Linked DNA regions of Homo sapiens: region 1 is linked to region 2. Evidence: promoter capture Hi-C in 16 types of primary human blood cells and fetal thymus (Javierre and others, 2016). All regions are on one chromosome and are shown on one strand. Each heading gives the region's core, a stretch centred on a gene start or on the middle of the fragment in contact. The rest is flanking DNA. Distances are from core to core; before and after follow the strand shown.

Region 1 (3,223 bases), core at 305-2,804, 520 kb before region 2:
GCCTCTGCAGGGCGCAGAGCCCCTCTCCCCCTCTCCTAACTCTCCTCCCCACCTCGCCGCGGCCTAAGCTAAGATGAGGTGAGCTTCCAGGGCTGTGTCCCTAGGAGGCCCCGAGCACTTTTCCTCCGAGGGTCGAAGAAATCAGGTCCCCTCTCTTTCCCCAGCGCCCTCTGAGGAAGCCGCGAACCTCTGAGCGAGCGTGGTTTTACTGGGGATTCCTAGCGACCTGCCCTGTGCCCAGCGACGCCCCAAGGGGAGAGGAGCTCTGTGGAGGGGCGGTGTGGGGGTGGGTGTCTACACTACATCCTCTGGCTCGGAGCAGGACCCGGTGATGCGCCCTGGCCGAGCTCCTGTCTCCTAGGAATGCGGGTGCCTCGGGCCCTGTCGGGACCCTTGGTTCGACCGGAGGGCCCGGGAGTGGGAGCCTGGATCCAACAGGCACCCGGATCCAGGAGTCAGACTCCTTGGTTCCGAACGTTTCTTCCGGAGCGAAAGCTTGCTCCCCCTTCCCCCAAGTCCCTCGCGGGCTGGGAGGTGAAGGGAGCGACAGAAGCCGGGCCTCCTCCGCAGCGCCCAACGCCCCGGGCTCTCCGGGTCCCGGGACGTGGCTCGGGTGCGTGGAGGGACGGCTGGGGGCGCAGATTTGTGAATGAACCTCGGAGCTCTTTGCAGCTCACAGATCAGAGGCTGCGATCGCCCCACCGACGTGGTCCAATGAGCCGCCGCAATAAGCTCTGAGCGACGAAACGGAGGCACGGCCTGGACTCTGCGGCACCGCGCTGCGCAGGGCCGGACGGGGGAGGGGCTGAGCCACTGCAGCAACTTCAAAGCCTGTGTCGGGGCTCAGCAATGGGTGGGCTCTCCCCGGGCCGCACGGTTCTCAAGGGCCTCCCCCGACCCCCACCGCCACCCCGTCGGAACGCCCAGAGGCGTTCCCAGCCCAAGTGATGGAGACTCTGACTCCCAGTTGTCTCCGCGCCCTCCGCTTGCGCGTCCTTGGCGTCTCCCCCGGGACCCGGGGGGCGATCACATTCTGAGACCTAATCCGGTTACTTCCGGGCGTGGGTCTCCACCGCCTCCCGGGCTGGCTGGACTCGCTTCCTAAGTAGCTGTCTCATTCACCATTCGCCGCCAGCTCCCCTTTCAAAATTCAAGTCTTCGGCTGCCTCCCTGTCGCTCTCCGCTCTCCGCTCTCCGCTCTCCGTGCGAGGGGAGGGGAGGGGGAGGAAGGAGCGGACACCCATGTGTGCCCGGGAGGGGCCCGCACCGCCTCCCCGCTCCCTCAGCAGAGGCCCTGGGCCCCCTCTTCAGAGGGAAATCGGTGAGCAGACACTAAGTGACGCGAGCCCCGGCCCCTTCCCCGCCGGGGGATCTCCGTGCGTTCCAGAAGCGCACCTGGAAGCAATTCTCCTCGCGTAACCGTCGCCTCCTAAGCATCTCCAGCATCTTCACATCTCCTAAACATCTGCACAATTCTGCGCTGTTTTCTGGAGGACCTCGGAGACGGGGAGGGGACGATGGGGTGCCGTGGGGGCAGGGAAGGAGAGAGGTCAGGGGTTACGCAGGATTACGGCTCGGCTCGGTGACCCTTCTCATCCTCCGTGGCCCAGGGAGGGGATCTGTAGCGAGGGCTCCAGACCTCTTTTGCAAAACCGAACTCTGGGGGAGGGCTTGCGTCCCATGAAGCACGGGGAAGGTCTAAATGACGAACACCCACGAGCGGCCGGGAGCGGAAGATGGCAGGATCGACGGGCCCGGGAGGGAAGATGGGCGTGCGTCTCCAGTGACCATGGCACGAGGCGGCGTCCTGCTCCGCACCACGCTACAACCCAACCAGGCCTCCGCCCCTCCGCGCTTGAACAGGGCGGGTCCACCCGGGCGGCGAGCTCGAGCTCAGCGCAGCCTCAGCCCGGCGCCTCCCTCCCGCTTGCTGGGGAAGAGGTGGGAAACCCTCTCCGCCGCGCCCTGGCTCCCACCGCAGGCCTCCGAGAATAAACTCTCTCAGGGAGACTGAACTGTCCCCACCCTCTGTCCCAGCCTCAAGAGGGACTTCCTGAAAATATGGCAGCCAAGAATAGGGTGAAAATGTAAGCCTGAGGTTTCCTTCTCCACCTCCCCCTGCTCCCTGCTCCTTCACCTCCACACTTCCCACCAGCCCAGAGGGGTCCAGCTGTAACCACCACCACCGCCACCTCTACGGTGCTGACGACTGTCACCATTTCCTTCCAGTTCCAGCTGCCTCCTGGATGCCTCCACTGGAAGGCTGACGAGCACCTTCAATTTCACGTGTTCACTTCAGAGCACCCCCGATCCCGCTACCCCTGCTGCCCTGATCTGCGCCTTCCCAGTTTCTCCCAGTCACCCAGCTGGCCACCCCCCAGGAGACATCCCTGATCCCTCATTTTCTCTCTAGAGCCACCTCCTGTCCCTTAGCAAGGCCTGCTGGCTCTGCCTCCACGTCTTTTCCACAGCTCCCCCATACTCCTGCGTCCTCCACCAGCCCCCAAGCCCTTTCCCCCTCCACCTGCAGGGTTGCATGGCCTCCTAACCAGCTCTCCACCTCACACATGTGCCCTGTGGTCCACCGCTCTCCCTACAACAGAGTAAGCTTCAGCTCAGACCTACCCTTGGTCAAAACCAGTGGTTTCCATGTGCATGAGAATTAGACACATCCTTACAATGTCCTTCAAGGCACAATGAAATCCACCAGCCACCTCCCTCACCTGAGGTTCTAAGTCTAGTTTTGCCAGTTCTTGAGCCTCCAAGCCATGGCCACCTCAGGGGAGCTCTTTTCCTTTGGTCCTGACTCTTTGTTCATCTGGTACATTCTTTCTCCATATCTTTGGGCACAGACTGTTCCCCAGAGAAGGGTCACATGATCTAAAATGACTCCCTAATCCAGGTGTGTTCCCCACAGCACTTATGGCTACTTGCAGTTGTAAAGGTGTTGGTGCGTTTATTATTGGTCTCTCATCTAGAACATACCTTCCAGAGGGCAGGGCCTCGTCTTCCTGGCTGTACCCCCAGTCCTGCTAAAGGGACTGGCACACAGTAACATGAAGCCAGTGCTCCCAGACTTTTTGGTCACAGGACTGCTTTATGCTCTTAGAAATTTACTGAGCCCCCCAAAGAGCTTTTGTATATAGCAACGGATAGATTTAGATGTCTATCCGGTGATTTGCGCAGTATGATGAAATGGTAATGTTTTAAATATATTGATTAA
Region 2 (2,970 bases), core at 1-2,500:
TTCTGTCTATATTATTCCTGCCTGGATGACATAGTGAGGTCTTCACTGCTGGAGAAGGGAGGGCTGGTGGGCCAGAGGGGAGACCCTGCAGAGGTGTGCAGTGTCCTTCTCTGCTGTTCATCTCAACCCGCTGTGTTAGGAAACCAGGAGGAAGCCCTACCTGGAATGAAACAGGTGCCTAGAATGAAGAGGGTAAGGACAAGGTTTAAGACTGTGACACCTGTTGCTTAAGAGACGCATTTAGGAGTGTGGCATGTAGATCCCAAATGTCCGTTTTGTAAAAGTTGTTGTTATTGTTTCACTTTTGTTGTTGTTGTTTGTTTGTTTTGAGATAGAGTCTCACTCTGTTGCCCAGGCTGGAGTGCAGTGGTGCAATCACAGCTCCCTGCAGCCTCAACCACCTGGCTCAAGCACTCCTCCCACCTCAGTCTCCCGAGTAGGCGGGGCCACATGTGTGCACTGCCATTCCTGGCTAAGTTTTCTTTTAATTCTTTGTAGAGACAGGGTTTCCCTATGTTGCCCAGGCTGGTCTTGAACTCCTGGCTTCAAGCAATCCTCACACTTCAGCCTCCTAAAGTGCTGGGATTACAGGCGTAAGCCACCACGCCCAGCCTGTTGTTATTGCTTTGAAGGAGTTCAGGAAATGCCACCCCCATGGCACTTGGGAGTGCTGATCCCTGTGAGCTGAGGGCACTTGGGAATCAGCGGATGCAGGCAGAGGTTTCCTCTGAGCTCCCCTTACCTGCCTGAAGACGGATCCTCCAAAAGGAACTCAGCTGTCATGAATCGCCTCCCCAGGAATCTCGTCAATCTGGGAGGATTAACACAGATCACAGGAGAGGACACTGGAGGTGACATCAGCCCAGATGACTATCACCCGTTCTCCCGAAGGCGGCTCTGAGATGTTTACGACCTCAGAGACATTTCATCCACAGAGCAGCACAACCTTTACTCACCAGACAGTCCCTCCCCAGGCTCTCCCATCACTTGTGTTCTCACCTCCCCTGGAAGCCCCGGGAACTTCGAAGTAGGCTTCTGTGGACTCCTGCCACTTCATCAGTAGCTGGGGCCCTGGTACCAGCACAAACTGCTTGCATCCAACTGACTTCACCAGACATACGGGCGTCTTTGGTAAGACCGCTCTCAGGTTTTGAATCTCCCAGGTTTGGGCTGAGATTCAGATTTTATTTAAGTAAATGAATTTCATGCTCAGTGGGACTGATATTGAAGCCGCCATTTAGGGCTTTAAGGCAGGAGTTTCGCGTCATTTCTCTAAAGATTCTGCTATTGGCAGGTTTGTGGTTTCACTTTTCTATTAGGTTAAGTTTTCGTTCGTCTTACTTGCTCTTTTGTAACCTTTTCTCTCATTGGACATTTTACTTGCTCAAGTTTGTAACCTTTTCTCTCATTGGACATTTTTTTACTTGCTCAAGTTTGTAACCTTTTCTCTCATTTGACATTTGGTTAAAGAGAAAGCAGTTTTCTTTGTAAAAGGAGAAAGTGAATGTTTGTGGCTTAAGCCAAATTTGTGGCTTTAAACCAGCCAGGCTTTGGATCTTGGTTAACATTGAGATTTAAAGTTTCTTCCTGAGTCACCCAAAATTTGTAAAAGGTTGGAATGAGGACGTGATAAGCTGAAGACAAAAAGGACTCTTTCTCCCAGCTGAAAGGCACCTTAGGCAATGGAGGTAACACAAGGGTGTGGAAGCTCACAACAAACCCCAGAGAAGAACTCACAGGGAGAGCTGCTTAACCCCCGGGGCACACAACACACAAGGGGTTCGTCACCCAGTGCCTTGAACTCCCAGAAATGTCTGGGTTTCTCTGAGGTAGGTAAGAGGGAAGAAGCTACTTGTAGGTGATACCTCCAGGAATAATCCCTACTAAGCAGCACACTGGACCCCAAACACTTTTCCCTTTTAGCCTTTGGGCATTTTAAAAGAGAATCCAAATTATGAGCAATTATCCATCTATAACCAAGCCCTCATTAAGCAATGCACCTTTGGAAACTCCAGCGGGGTTTATGTACAAGACTTATGGCGCCACCTCCTGTCGATAGTTGGAGAAATGGTCTTATTTGACCTAAGAAGATCCTAAATTACAATGATCAAAGAGAATTATCTTTGAAATAGCTAGATTAGTTTATTTATATGCACAATTTTAAAAAGCCAGCTATGGAATCAAATAAAATAATTAAGAGAGTTACTTCCAATGGCACCCAGAAGCATCCAAAAGAGGTTTTGACAGAATTCTTCCCTTAGAGGAAGAAAATAAAAAGCACTCTAAAACCATTACTGAATTTTAAAAAACACTGAAATGTCTTCTTCTCTCCCTGCTCCCCTGTCTCTCTAAGCCTCCTTGTCAGAACTACCCAGCCCTGATTGACCTTCTCCTCCTCCTCCTCCTGCCCCTCCTCCTGCTCCCACTGGTTTGGCTCCATTTCATCCAGCATCTGGTAGAGGGGAACCTGCTTTATCAATCATGATCAAACTTACAGGCATAGTTAAAAGAATTCCTTGATCTTCACCAGGTTCCTATTGGTTTTGCTAGGAAATTTGAATTAAATATCCAAGCTTATGACCCTAGTTATTCTGACTTCTAGCAACAGATTCACATGTTAGTAGCAAAAATTAAAGCTAAAGGCTGGCTAGACAAAGCTCACTGGAGAAATCTGTTAGGGATCTTCATAAATGTTCAGAAGAGGACCATAGACAGGCTTGAAGAACAGCAAAGGCTTTGCATCAGGCTATCTCCTCAGTTTTTCAGAGTAGTCAACTGGAACAAAATACAATATCAACAAAATTCAGATGAGTCAGTAATATACTTTGAGGGCTGTGGAAAAAATTTTAAAGAATATTTAGTTTTATCCGAAGAAAGCTGTGCTAATCATCGAAATGATACTCGACTCCAGTTTAACAAATGAGTTAGATGAATTGGAACTAACAATGAAAAGACAAAGTTGGGCCACTT

What was found. The method cuts DNA at HindIII sites, captures the fragments that hold promoters and counts their contacts. A CHiCAGO score of 5 or more calls a contact.
Region 1: a fragment that was not itself captured here is called in contact with the fragment with the promoter of PAXIP1-AS2 in region 2 in 1 of 17 cell types (naive B cells); the score reaches 7.8 in naive B cells.

What each region holds. Positions count from the first base shown.
Region 1 is chr7:155,447,394-155,450,616 of GRCh38, reverse strand. The region is part of intron 2 of EN2-DT (EN2 divergent transcript); the gene reads left to right. Among named protein-coding and RNA genes, the nearest start is that of EN2-DT, 8.1 kb to the left of the region's middle. The HindIII fragment of the contact is 2,113 bases long and covers 498-2,610 here.
Region 2 is chr7:154,926,797-154,929,766 of GRCh38, reverse strand. It overlaps PAXIP1-AS2 (PAXIP1 antisense RNA 2), which reads right to left and starts at 1,250. Exons shown (of 8, transcript NR_024476.1): 1 at 1,000-1,250; 2 at 743-811. RefSeq lists enhancers at 620-839, 990-1,089, 1,110-1,169. The HindIII fragment of the contact is 7,419 bases long and covers 1-2,575 here.